2 separate regions of the Homo sapiens genome follow, and region 2 is linked to region 1. Evidence: promoter capture Hi-C in human tissues and cell types (Jung and others, 2019). All regions are on one chromosome and are shown on one strand. Each heading gives the region's core, a stretch centred on a gene start or on the middle of the fragment in contact. The rest is flanking DNA. Distances are from core to core; before and after follow the strand shown.

What was found. Contacts are between HindIII fragments. The study calls those that stand out against the background at their distance.
Region 2: a fragment that was not itself captured here is called in contact with the fragment with the promoter of DCTN3 in region 1 in 2 of the 25 tissues and cell types used here (dorsolateral prefrontal cortex and thymus).

Annotation. Positions count from the first base shown.
Region 1 is chr9:34,617,692-34,624,368 of GRCh38, forward strand. It overlaps DCTN3 (dynactin subunit 3), which reads right to left and starts at 2,804. Exons shown (of 7, transcript NM_007234.5): 1 at 2,678-2,804; 2 at 985-1,069; 3 at 194-280. The coding sequence starts at 2,773. It overlaps ARID3C (AT-rich interaction domain 3C), which reads right to left. Exons shown (of 8, transcript NM_001017363.4): 4 at 6,173-6,356; 5 at 5,734-6,023; 6 at 4,656-4,838; 7 at 4,329-4,418; 8 at 3,358-3,867. The coding sequence ends at 3,767. RefSeq lists an enhancer at 6,503-6,677. The HindIII fragment of the contact is 3,867 bases long and covers 1-2,873 here.
Region 2 is chr9:34,362,336-34,369,012 of GRCh38, forward strand. It overlaps MYORG (myogenesis regulating glycosidase), which reads right to left. Exons shown (of 2, transcript NM_020702.5): 2 at 4,331-6,677. Among named protein-coding and RNA genes, the nearest start is that of MYORG, 11 kb to the right of the region's middle. The HindIII fragment of the contact is 4,076 bases long and covers 1-3,288 here.

The sequences.
Region 1 (6,677 bases), core at 1,554-4,053:
TGCAGAGGTATACTGTACTCAATGTCTACTAGAGGATCCATAGGATCCTCAACCCAGAACCAGGCCACAATTCCAGAGAGCAGCATCCAGGGCTTGTATCCACCAGAAGACTGGATGGAGAGGCCATCTCTGTGCTTAACCTCCCCGACGACCCACATCCTCAGATGCATGTACACATGTAGTCCAGCATTACCTGCTAGGATGAATTGCAGCTTAGAGGCATCAGGTATGGCAATGCGGTCGATGTACTCAGGATCCAGGTACTTGATCAGATCTTCAACTAGAAAAGTAGCAAGATGGAAAATGGAATAGGGTTGGGCAGTAGAGCTCTGCCTTATGAAGGATGTTTGACAAGTGGTCAGCCTTGAGGAGAGCCTTCAATGAGGAGCTGATACCCAACAGTGCCACATGAGCAGGGCTCCACCAGGCTCCCTATCCCCACTTCCCTATCTCTCCACTCTCTTCTCTTGAAGTCTCTTCTGACATCAAGCTTCAGAGCTGAAAACACAATTGCCACCACCACTCTGGGCCCTTAGCATTCTCACTGACCTATCCTCACCAAGGGTAGAAGGCCTCTTTTCTCCTAGATGTCACCGAGACAAGCCAGAGCTTTGTCTAATTTCTAGTTACTAAGCAGGTTACTAGTTCTGACATAACCAGGATCTCAGTGTCTAATTTGTTTCCTGCCCCTTAACCTTGCCTGGGAAATCCCATACCCTTTTTACCCTCCTTCACCAAGAGAAGCTTTCAGGTAGAGCTCTTATTTCATAACTTAGGACACTGTCATGGGCTTGAGGTTTAGCCACAAGGTAGAAAAGCACACCACAATTTACCAATTGAATTGGGTGTAGGTAAATGTCCTCATAATCTTTCTATCCCCAAAGGGCTATTCCAGTGACCTAATGAACTGAAGGGCTAGGGCCAGGTACCAGGAAGCTGAGGGGTGGGATGTCGGGCAGGCAGGCACATCATGGAAGCACTTACTCTTTTTGTAGAGAATCTTCACCCTCTCCCTCTTGCTGGAAATGTTCCCCAAAGCCACCTGCACCTTGACCAGGCCGTCAGCCACCTGTAAGGGAAGTGGTGGTTAATTCCAAGATATACTACCTGGCTCAAGGCTTGGAAAAGTTAAAGAACCCTCATTCTCCCAGACTCTCAAACCTGAATCCCAGTAATCTAGGTTGGCCTCCCTTCTCTAATATTAAAGGAGATGCAGCCCCACCTTCCAGGAATCCTTAAAGTGGAGAGAGAGAATCATGTACTCCTTGGGGAGTTTCAAGTCTGATGGGGAAGATAACGAACTATTTTAGAGTCTATGGAATATAGAGTATACACAATATATTTTCTGGTTCCTAAGTCCTGGGTTTGGGCATGAGAAACACAAGCATCCTCATTCAAGCCTTCATGACCTCTAGATTGGCTGGCCTACCTCTAGCCCTATCCCCTCCACATCAAATTTGGTGTGGGAGATGGAAGAGTCCAAACAACTGGGATCCCAATGATGGTGCAATCACTGAATTAGGGAATACAGAAGAGAATCAGGTTAGGGGAGAGAAAGAGTACAGTTAAGGGCATACAGATTGAGTTTGAAATGACTATTGGATATCCAAGTGGAAAAGTCCAGTAGACAACTAGACATAAAAGTCTGGTTCTCAGAACAGAAATCTGGACCAGAGATATACATTTGAGACATATTGACATGTAAATAGTAATTGACACCATGGAAGCGAGTGAGCCTACCTAAAGTTTAGGGGTAGAATGTAAAGAATCCCAATATTAAAGGGTCAAATAGAGGAGGAGACTAAGGAAGTGACTGCACTCACCCAGTTTTTAGGGTAGAGGATGAGGAATGCCAGGGGGGAGGCAAATAACACTGAGAAGCAGCCGTAAGAGGTAGAAGGAAAACCAGGAGGGTCAGCGTCATAGATCCCAAAGGAAGAGAATGTTTGAGAAGTTAGTTCTGAAATGGGAGCACAGTCTGCTAGTGACAACTAATTCCTCATTTAGTGTACAAACAGACATCATTACCTTGGACGCACTTAGCTCCAGGACATGCCTGACACGCCATCAGAAGTTCTTCAATAAAAGATCTTCCCATAGTAGAAAGGGGAGGAGAGGGCACCTGAGCTTCGTAGTTGTCAAAATTCTGTCACTGGTATAAAGCAGTGCTAGTCCACATCTGAATACCCAGTACCCAGTCTCTTCCCTTCCTAATCCTGGTCCTTTCAGACCTCACTTCTCACCCTTTGGCGTTTTCCTTATCCACCTCTGCTCTGCCTCCCCAGGGGTCCCATGGACCTCTTCCTGCACAATTCATTTAGCAATTAATTATGCAGGGCTCTATGACGGGCCTTCCTATCGTGGACTTCAGCTCTTATTGAAACTCTCATTAGTCAGCTTCTCGTGTCAGGTCTCCCCAACTATAGCTCGCGAGGGCAAGGGCGGAGTCTCAGCTACAGTAGGTACGGAGCCCACTCTCAGGCTGGCTTAACCACCCGCAGAGCCCCCTATGACAGTGGACCCCGATGGTCCAATCAGCTCTGGGAGGTCCCGGACCTTTGTTATTTCAAAGGCCGGGCTGCGGAGAACAGGACTGGAGCGGTTGCATCCCGAGGGCCAGGACAGTGGACCGCTCTTGCTCTGCTCCAGAAAGGGACTACCGGACCAGACTACTCACCTTCCGTGAGCCGCGCGCCCCGCCCGGCCCGTACACCCAGCGCTCCAGCTCTTCCACTCGGGCCTGTAGCCGCTGCAAGTCAGTCAGACCCGCCATCGCTACTACCGACCCACCTCGGCCAGGAAACAGCCAGAGGGCGGGACGTCAGTCCAAATAAGAAGGCTAGCCAATCCGAGTGCACGAGCGGCCCTTTATGCAGGAAGTGACGCCATGATTCAGCCCTTCAGTGCCGGAAGTTACTCCTCGGAGCTGTCAAAAGCTGATTACCTTGGCAACGGCTCTGTCCCATCCCTCCCCTGGCTTCCAGTGCCTGGTTGTCAAGATAACCTTTGCTTTTCGGGTACCAAAGAGCTTTCCCCACGCCATTCCCTGAGTTTGCACGTGTTCCAGGATAGGTCCATTCCCATAGATACATCATTAGGAGGCTCCGTGAGTTACCATAAACTTTTGGAGTCTTCTAAGGTTCAGTTGATTAAGTAACTTGCCCAAGGCCACCCAGCACTATAGGGACAGAAACAGGACTTGAACTCAGGCTGTCTGATTCAAGAGACGGAGCTCTTCTATTCTCACGAAACTTTGCTATTCTGCCTTAACCTCTGAAAGCCCCTGGCCCAAGGCAGCCTATGTTCCACATCATTCCTCCCCACCTCCCATACCCAAACAAGAAAGGAGGCATCAGAGAGGGAGGGACCGCAGCTTTATTGTCTAGATGTGACCTGAGGGATGTCTCTTTCACAGTACCCCAACCCAACCTTTCACTTGGCTCCTGAAGAGAAGCAGGGCTGACTCAAAAGGGTAGGGTCCTAGAGATGACATTGACAGAGGGAACACATGAGGAGATGATGGGGTTACTGGAGGAAGAACCCTTTGGTAGGTGCTGCTGGAATTGGCCAGGGAGGAGGTGCCCTCCCTTTACAATGAGGTAGGTGTAACATCAAAAGAAACTTTGGTTTTAAGTCCACATGGCATGGGAGGTGTCGTCCCCTCCCAGGGCTGGGTCCCAGAGTGGGCAGCCAGAAAGAATCAAAGCAGGGGGTCTCCTCCCCCCTCAGCAATGGGGCTGGGACTCTTAGTTTCAAGTAGGACCTCTCAGGGCAAGATGCTGGAAGGGGGCCCTGTGGAGGGTGGGGGTGCAGGGTTGGTTGGACCCTGGGAAGCTGGCACAGGCTGGCGGCGGGCAAAGAGGACACCTGGCAAAGGGGTGAGGAGATGGTAGAGGGCAAAAACAAGCAGGAGGGGGTAGGGTATGGAAACAGAAGAGGGGAACAAAAGTAAGTGTTCTGGTTGCTAGAACACTACACACGTACCCCTGCCACAAACCAATGAGGACAAGCTCCTTGGGTCAGTAAGAGACTCCATTGCTAATGTAGATACCTCAAACAGGTAAACAAGGAATATTTATGCTGATACATAGGCCCAAGACAAGGCAGACATCCCCTGGTACTCATGCCAGAGAGGTCATGCCTTGGATCCCATGCCATGTAGACACCCCCTTTAACCCATGCCAGTCTAGCAATCCCCTGAACTCCATGTTACTCATGCAAGTTTAGATATCCCTGAACTTCATGCTAGTAGAGGAAGTCTAAAATCCCCATGCCAGCCTAAATACCCCTGACCCCATGCCAGTGTAGACAGCCTGCAGTACCCATACCAGTGTAGACCACCCCGTTGATCTCTAGGGCCATGTTGATACTGCTGATGCCACTGCCTGCCAGATTAAGAGGCCCATCCAGCCGCTCTTCTGTCCAGGAGGGGGCAGAGGAATCACATTTTGGAGAATCAGACTTCTGACTTATTAATAGAATTTCCCCCCTCCATCCCCGTAGACAGCCCCCATTCCACTTCAGCCCCACACCTATACTCACACAGTTGTCTACAGAGGAATCTGTCTGCCCCGTCTCTAACACCTATCAGGTGATGGGTCAATCCTCCCTCAGTGTACAGTCCCGAAGCCCCCTCACAACAAGCCCCTCCTCACCCCTCAGGGGAACCTTGCCACGGGGCAGGAAACTGGGGGGCATGCAAGGTCGAGGTGGGTCCATAGGCCCCATCAGCACAGCTCTCTTCTCTGGGGGCTCCTCTGGTGCCAATTTCTCCCGTGTAGGTCCCAGTGCCAGGCCCACAGGCAGTGCCAGACAAGGGTTTGGAATTCCACTCTCCTCTAGAAGAACAGGTTATTCAGCTCCCCTGGCCAAACCAACCCATCTCTGCATTGGTTCTCCCCCAGGCCTGGGACCAAAAGAGGTAACTCAAGCTCATGTACCAATCTCTCATCCTTCATTCGATCTATCTTCCCATCCAGAGCCTCAGCCTGGAAGCGCTGAAGCTTTTCTCTAGAGCCCAAAGGATCAAGGTACATGTCTAGACAATTTGGGGGATTGTTTTTGGCTGTTGGTTATTAAATAATCCAGGTCACAAGAGGCACAAACTATATGCAAATAGGAGCACTGGGTGGACATGTGTGGAATGGAGTTGCTGTGATTAAAGGACCTTTTCCTGGCCGGGCGCGGTGACTCAGCCTGTAATCCCAACACTTTGGGAAGCGGAGGAGGGCGGATCACGTGGTCAGGAGATCGAGACCATCCTGGCTAACACGGTGAAACCCCGTCTCTACTAAAAATACAAAAATTAGCCGGGCATGGTGGCGGGCCCCTGTAGTCCCAGCTACTCGGGAGGCTGAGGCAGGAGAATCGCTTGAACCCGGGAGGCGGAGGTTGCCGTGAGCTGAGATCGCGCCACTGCACTCCAGCCTGGGCGACGGAACGAGACTCCGTCTCACAAAAAAAAAAAAAAAAGAAAAAAAGAAAAAAAAGGACCTTTTCCTGAACTTCAGCCCCTACACTTCAGTAACCCGTACCCCAGAGCTCTCATTTGGCCGCAAACCTCAGGACCCCTAAACCTTAGTGACCCCCAAACCTCAGAAGCCCGTCAGACCTTACTGCTCCCATACCTCAATGCCTCCCCAGACCTCAATCCTCACATTTTAATGGTTGCTATATCTTAGCGCCCACCTAAACCTCAGAGACCCCGAAACCTCTACCATTCTCCCCTCGCACCTTTCTTAATAGGGCTTGGACTCAGCTGAGCGCATGCATGCGCTGGCAGGCCGGAGGTGGAACCCTGGGCTGGGCCAGGGCTGGACTGGGTCGCCGGAGGGGCGGGGCCGGGACCCAAGGCTGGGTCCTGAGCGCCCCGAGGGGGCGGCCCTGCCAAGCCGAAGAGCGGAGTAGCGGTGTAAGCCTGGCGACGGCCCTCGCGCCGATTGCTGTCTATGGCGGCCTGGAGCTCCCCTGGGGAGCTGAGCGCTCGAGTCTCGCACTCGTACGGGTACAGGTACTTCATGTACCTAGGGGCGGACAGCGGGCGGTGAGTGTATGGGAGGCTGCACCCAGCTGGTCAAGTCCCACAGCCGGACGCCCGCCCGGGGACCCTCCCCCCTCCCGCCCCAGGCCGAACCCGTGCCCCCTTCCCTTCCGCTCCCGCCCCTGGCCTCACTGGGTGCGTAGAGTGAAGGCGGCCGAGGTGATGGTGGTGGGTAGGCTGAGGCCGCGCGTGACTTCCCGCCACACTTTGCGGTTGATGACTTCCACCAGGCCGCCCTTGGCGGTCACCAGGCGAAACAGAGCGTACAGGTCGAGCACCTGCTTCGCCATGATGGGCACGCGGTTCACTGGCGTCCCTGGTGGGGAGCGGGCTGCCGTCAGGACACTGAGACGAAGACCCTGTCTGCAGCATCCCCAGGGACTGATACAGGACGGGAGCCCCGGGGAGGGCGGGAAAGAGGGAGACTTGGGCGGAGCCCACAGAACCCCAGGGTCTCTGTTTTAGCAAGAAGGACAGGAGGCTAGAACGGGGGGGGGCAAAGTTCTGTAAAAGGCCAGATGGCTAAATGGTCTCTGTCACAACTACTCAACGCTGTCATTGTAGCCTAAAGGCGGCCATAGAGAATACCTGAAGGAATGGATGCGGCTGTGTTCCAATAATATAGACTCTGAAATTC
Region 2 (6,677 bases), core at 1-2,500, 260 kb before region 1:
GTGAGCTGAGATCACGCCACTGCATTCCAGCCTGGGTGACAGAACAAGACTGTCTCAGAAAAAAAAAAAAAAAAATAATTTATTTTGTGCTTTTGATTTTTTCTAGAAATTTACTTATACGAAAAGAACTATTTATTTGTTTTAAAGAGATGGAGTCTTACTATATTAGCCAGGCTGGTCTCAAACTCCTGGTCTCAAGCAATCCTCCCTCCTCAGCCCCCTAAAGTGCTGGGATTACAGGCATGAGCCACTGTGCCCAGCACCTGAAAAAGCACTATTTGGTAGAGTCATGTTTTAACATAGACTCAAAACTTCCCTGCCCCTGAGCAGGGGCCACAAAGTCCCAGTCTGGCTTCTGTGTCATGTTTAGAGGATGTGGGGTCCAGACAGAATCATCAATGGTCAGGGTCAGGGCTCAACCTAGGGTCCAGAGTGGTTATGTCTGGGAGGCTCAGTGGTATAGCTAGGAGTGGAATTCAAGCATAACACTATTGAGAGGCCAACTGTGGGCACTAGGGAGGGAAGAGGGAGCAAGTGTTCTAAGTGCAACAGACTATGTATATCCCTGTGCCTGAAAGAACTGGTCCCAGCCGGGTTCTGGCCCCCAAGGTTTGTAAGGTTTAGAAAGTGGCCAATATCTCTTGTGATGTCTCAGGCACAGAGATAAATGTGCAAGGAACTATGTACCTCTTCTGGCCCCTGTGGGGTGGACTCTGGCTGGGTGATAGGGAAGGCAACTAGGTAAATATTGTGGGAGTCAGTGAAGGTGGGTAGTTTACCTCCTTGTATTGGATGTGGTTTCACCTGCGACGGGACATGTGGGGCTAAGACTTCAATTTCCCCTTCAATCGGAAGCCCTCCAAGCTCCAGAGCATCTCCTCCTTGAAATTTTCCCTATTTTCCCACCCACACGAAAGAGGCTCTGCCTGGAGCACCACCTGTTTCCCCACTACCCCTTCACTGCTCAGGGTGAAGCAGCATCAAATGACCCTCTCCCCAGCAGGGTGGTCTTAAGCTTTCACCTCCTAGGGGCATTTCACAGGGGCAGTAGAAAACCAAAATACCCTTTTGACCTTAAAAAACAATGCCTTACACCTCTACTGAAAGTGCTTGTTTGCTGAATTGAAGACTTTAAGGAATGAAGTTATAATGGTAGGATTTCAATTGAAATTCCTGTGCAGATATGTGACCCCAAGTGAGGCCCCTATGTTTGGGGAGTAGAGGCTCTGACCTCTAGCCATCCATCCTTTGGCCCAACTCGTTCTTTCTTTTCTAGAAGTGCCATTCCCCCTTCCCCCTGCTGCTGCTCTCTTGAAGCTGTGCTACGGGGGCCCAGTCTCGGTGAGACCGATTGTCTGCCTTTCCCCAATCCCTACCAAATCCACTTTCCGTCCCCTCCCGCCGCCATCCTGCTCAGGATTATGTAATAGGAAGTTCTCAACTAGACTCCCTGGGGAGGGAAAAGGGGCCTGAGAGGGAAAAACAGCACAAGAATACAGAGCACAAGAGGCACAACCTTTTCCTGTTCTCTAGACTGAGAGCTCCCCAGAACGGGGCCTCCTCTTCTGTTTTCTCCCATACCTCCCCGCAACCCTGGAGCCATGCAACCCAGGGCTCGCCGCATAAGGCCGAGTATTCTACCCTCTCCTCAAGCTGCTGGAAAGATCCTTGGGCAGGACTAGCCTTAAGATAAAAAGCAGGCTGCTTCCTTGGGAGCAGGGGTGTGTCTGGAGAGGGTAGGGTATCAGCAGAAGCCCCACTGAGTCGAACAATGGCAGGAAAGGAAACCACGCAGTTGCCACTGCATTTTTCTTCAAGGCTGAGTCTGTGCAGACCTTTCCTGGAAGGGATGGTGGTATAGCTGTTTCCAGAATAGAAGGTAGTATTTCTTCAAATGCCTTTCAAAATATGATGGGGTGTGTGTGTGTGTGTGTGTTTGTGTGTGTGTGTCTCCCTCACAGAAGCAGAGACAGAGGAGTGAAAAGAAGCCACATCATAGATGCCTTGAACACCAAAGCTTTGATTTTTTTCTAAATGACATGATTGAATTTCACGAAGATTTCCTTGGCTGCTGTGTGGATTGGTGGTTTGCCGGGTCCAAGAGCGGAAAGAATTAGGAGACCACTACAGTGGTCCAGGCTCCAGTTGATTAGGTCTGATGTGGGATAGTGGCCAGGGGACAAAGAAGTCAACATTGGCCCTTACTCAGGGAGGGGAGAAACGACCAGAGTACTTGGTGAGGGGAACCAGGAGAATAAGATTTGCTCTGGAGCCAGATCCAGGGTTAGAAATCTGGGGAAACAACAACAAAAACTCTCCCAGAAAACCCATAGCTTGGGCTCATAGAGCAGGCTTGGCTGGGGCTCAACCCATTCATATAGTGTTGGAAGGGAAACTGAGACACACTCTCAGGAACAGAAGGTCACAGAATGGGAGCCTAGGCTCCAGTCCCAGGCTTCCTGCAATGGCCACTCAGTTCATCCCCAGTACTCCTGAAGGGAGTTCCCATTTATGCATATCACACCCACCACCCACCAGCCCAGGGGTAGAGGGCAGACCAGTGAGGAATTCTGGCTACAACAAGGCTGCTGGAAGCTCCACAGGGGAGGGTCAGCACCCGCCCCCACCCAGATCCAGATGTGCAGAGAGAGATAAATTTGGAATGTGCAGGGATAAGGGACTGGAAAAGGCTGGCAGGAGCCAGGGTTCCTGGCACCCTGGGAAATTAGGGATAGGGATAGCTGGCAGCCCAGTTCTTTTCTCTTTCCCTAACTCCAAGAAAGATCCTCGTGAATCCTGACATTTCAGCATGCCCTCCCAATTACTTGAATCTTTTTTTAGCATCAATGGAGAAAGGGGAAACACTTCTCGGCCTAGAATCAGGCCCACTTGGTGGCAGCTTCAGAGATGCACATTTCAGCTAGCTCCCATCCTTGGAGGTATACAGACTGGGATGGGCCATGCTGTTGAAAGGGGATGAGTTCTGGGTCTGAGATTCTAGATCCCTGCAAACAGGATACCAACGTTCTAGTGCAGCTGTGGTTACTAATTTTCCATATGACCTCAGGCCAATACCCTCCTCTCTCAGAGCTTCAGTTTGTTCATCTGTGCTTTTGTGATTAATGGGGTCAATGGCAGAAGCCAGACAAGAAACCAGATCCCAAGCCAAGGGCCAGTTTGTTGGAATTTGCCCAGACAAGGTGTGCAGTCTGGTTTCCATCCAGGCCGTCAGACACTCCTGCCTGCCTTCAATGCCCTTCTAAAAGGTACTCCTCCTCCAGGGAAGCCTCACAGATTATCTTCTTCCCCCCCATGTCATACACTGCTTGGTCCAGGGCTGTCCAATAATACTTGTTGCAACTATGGAAAAGTTCTATAATTTGCACTGTCCAATATATTAGCCACTAGTCACATATGGCTGTTGAACATTTGAAGTGTGGCTAATGTGCCTAAAGAACTGAATTTTAATTAATTTTAGAAGTAAATTTAAGAAGCCATATGTGGCTACTCACTACCATATTGGACAATACAGGTTCTAGCCAAGGCTTTTCTCTCTTTGTTCCTTGTTTATAATAGTTCATAGGAGTTACCATTTATTGAGCACTTACTCTTTGCCAATTTTTGTGTGTTTTATTTATTTTTTTCCTCTTTTTTTTTCTTAATTTATTATACTTTAAGTTATAGGGTACATGTGCACAACGTGCAGGTTTGTTACATATGTATACATGTGCCATGTTGGTGTGCTGCACCCGTTAACCCGTCATTTACATTAGGTATATCTCCTAATGCTATTCCTCCCCACTCCCCCTGCATAGGGTTTTATACACATCTCAGTGAATCCTAGAAATTCCATTTTAAAGATGAAGAAACCAAGGTTAGGTAAAACTGGTTTCAGGTTGCATAGAAAGCTGGAGAACCATTCAAATGTGGGTCATGTTCTCCAGCCATTTAAGGAACTTTCCAGGGCCCAGCCTGGGGTTCTCCTTCTACACTTACTCTAGAGCACATGGCTGGACACCAGGGCCTGGGGAGGCTTATCAGTGAGTATCAGTTGGTAGATGGTAGACACTTGATGAAAAGGAGAGAAACTATATTCACTTTCCATCTCCCAGGGACCCAGGAATCCTGGCTCCTGACATCCCACCTTGAGGTATCTCTCTTTTTGCCTTTCTCCTGGACTACAGTGTCCCTTGGGTCACAAACTCAGAGTTCAACTGGTGCTATGTACAGAGGACGGGGGAGGGGGTGTCACAGCAGGCCCAGAGAAAGCCATCCAGGCTGAGAGCTGGGTTCTAGAAGGATCCTTGTTTTTAATCAATAAAACAAGAAATAGTATTATAATAGCTACCATTTATTGAGCACCTACTTTGTGCCAGGCACTTTACATACATTTGTGCTTATAATTCTTACAACAACCTCGGGAGGTAGGCATTATTATCACCATTTGACATATGAGAAAACAGAGGCTTAGCAAGGTTAAGCGGCTTGTTCAAGGTCACAGAGCTGGTAGATAAGTGATAGAATCAGCACTTGAGTTGTGCATCTGTGAGGGCCCCAAAGCTTTCATCAGGCATTTTCCACACTGAGAAAATAAAGAAGGTAGAGGAGTGGTGTATTAGTCTGTTTTCACACTGCTGATAAAGACATACCCGAGACTGGGTAATTTATGAAGAAAAAGAGGTTTAATGAACTCACAGTTCCATGTGGCTGGGAGGCCTCACAATCATGGTGGAAGGCAAAAGGCACATCTTACATGGCAGCAGACAAGAGAGAATGAGAGCCAAGCAAAAGGGGAAACCCCTTATTAAACCATCAGATCTCGTGAGACTTATTCACTACCACCAGAACAGTATGGGAGAAACTGCCCCTATGATTCAATTATCTCCCACCAGGTCCCTCCCACAATTATGGGAGCTACAATTTAAGGTGATATTTGGATGGGGACACAGCCAAACCATATCATTCTCTCCCTGGCCCCTCCCAAATCTCATGTCCTCTCATTTAAAAATCAATCATGCCTTCCCAACAGTCCCCCAAAGTCTTAACTCATTTCAGCATTAACTCAAAAGTCCATACTCCAAAGTCTCATCTGAAACAAGGCAAGTCCCTTCCACCTATGAGCCTGTAAAATCAAAGGCTAGTTAGTTACTTCCTAGATACAACGGAGGTACAGGCATTGGCTAAATACACCCATTTCAAGTGGGAGAAGTTGGCCAAAACGAAGTGGCTAAAGGCCCCATGCAAGTCTGAAATCCAGCAGGGCAGTTAAATCTTAAAGCTCCAAAATGGTCTCCTTTGACTCCATGTCTCACATCCAGGTCACACTGATGCAGGAGGTGGGTTCCCATGGTCTTGGGCAGCTCCACCCCTATGGCATTGCAGGGTACAGCCTACTTCTCGGTTGCTTTTACAGGCTGGCGTTGAGTGTCTGTGGCTTTTCCAGGTGCATGGTGCAAGCTGTCAGTGGATATACCATTCTGATGTCTGGAGGACGGTGGCCTTCTTCTGACAGCTCTACTAGGCAGTGTCCCAGTGGGGTCTCTGTGTGGGGGCTTCCCCTTCCACATTGCCTTAACAGAGGTTCTCCATGAGGGCCTCACTCCTGTAGCAAACTTCTGCCTGGACATACATGCATTTCCATACATTCTCTGAAATCTAGGCAGAGGTTCCCAAACCTCAGTTCTTGACTTCTGTGCACCTGCAGGCTCAACACTACGTGGAAGATGCCAAGACTTGGGGCTTGCACCCTCTGAAGCCAAGGCCTGAGCTGTATCTTGGCCCCTTTTAGCCATGACTAGAGCAGCTGGGATGCATGGTACCAAGTCCCTGGGCTGCACACAGCAAGGGGACCTTGGGCCTGGCCCACAAAACCATTTTTTCCCTCCTAGGCCTCCAGGCCTGTGATGGGAGGCACTGCTGCAAAGGTCTCTGACATGCCCTGCAGACATTTTCCCCATGTCTTAGTGATTAACATTTGGCTCCTTGTTACTTATGCAAATTTCTGCAGGGGGCTTGAATTTATCCTCAGAAAATGGGTTTTTCTTTTCTATCTCATCATCAGGCTGCAAATTTTCCAAACTTTTATAGTCTGTTTCCCTTTTAAAACTGAATGCTTTTAACAGCACCCAAGTCACCTCATGAATGCTTTGCTGCTTAGAAATTTCTTCTGCCAGATACCCTAAATCATCTCCCTCGAGTTCAAAGTTCCACAAATCTCTAGGGCAGGGGCAAAATGCAGCCAGTCTCTTTGCTAAAATATAGCAAGAGTCACCTTTACTCCAGTACCAAACAAGTTCCTCATCGCTATCTGAGACCAACTCAGCCTGGATTTCATGTCCCAATCATTATCAGCATTTTGGTCAAAGCCATTTAACAAGTCTCTAGGAAGTCCCAAACTTTCCCACATTTTCCTGTCTTCTGATCCCTCCAAACTGTTCCAACCTCTGCCTGTTACCCAGTTCCAAAGTTGCTTCCACATTTTTGGGTATTTACAGCAGCGCCCCACTCTACTGGTACCAATTTACTGTATAGGTTCATTTTCACAGTGCTGATAAAGACATAACCAAGACTGGGTAATTTATAAAGAAAAAGAGGTTTAATGAACTCACAGCTCCACGTGGCTGGGGAGGCCTCACAAGCATGACAGAAAGGCACGTCTTACATGGCGGCAGGCAAGA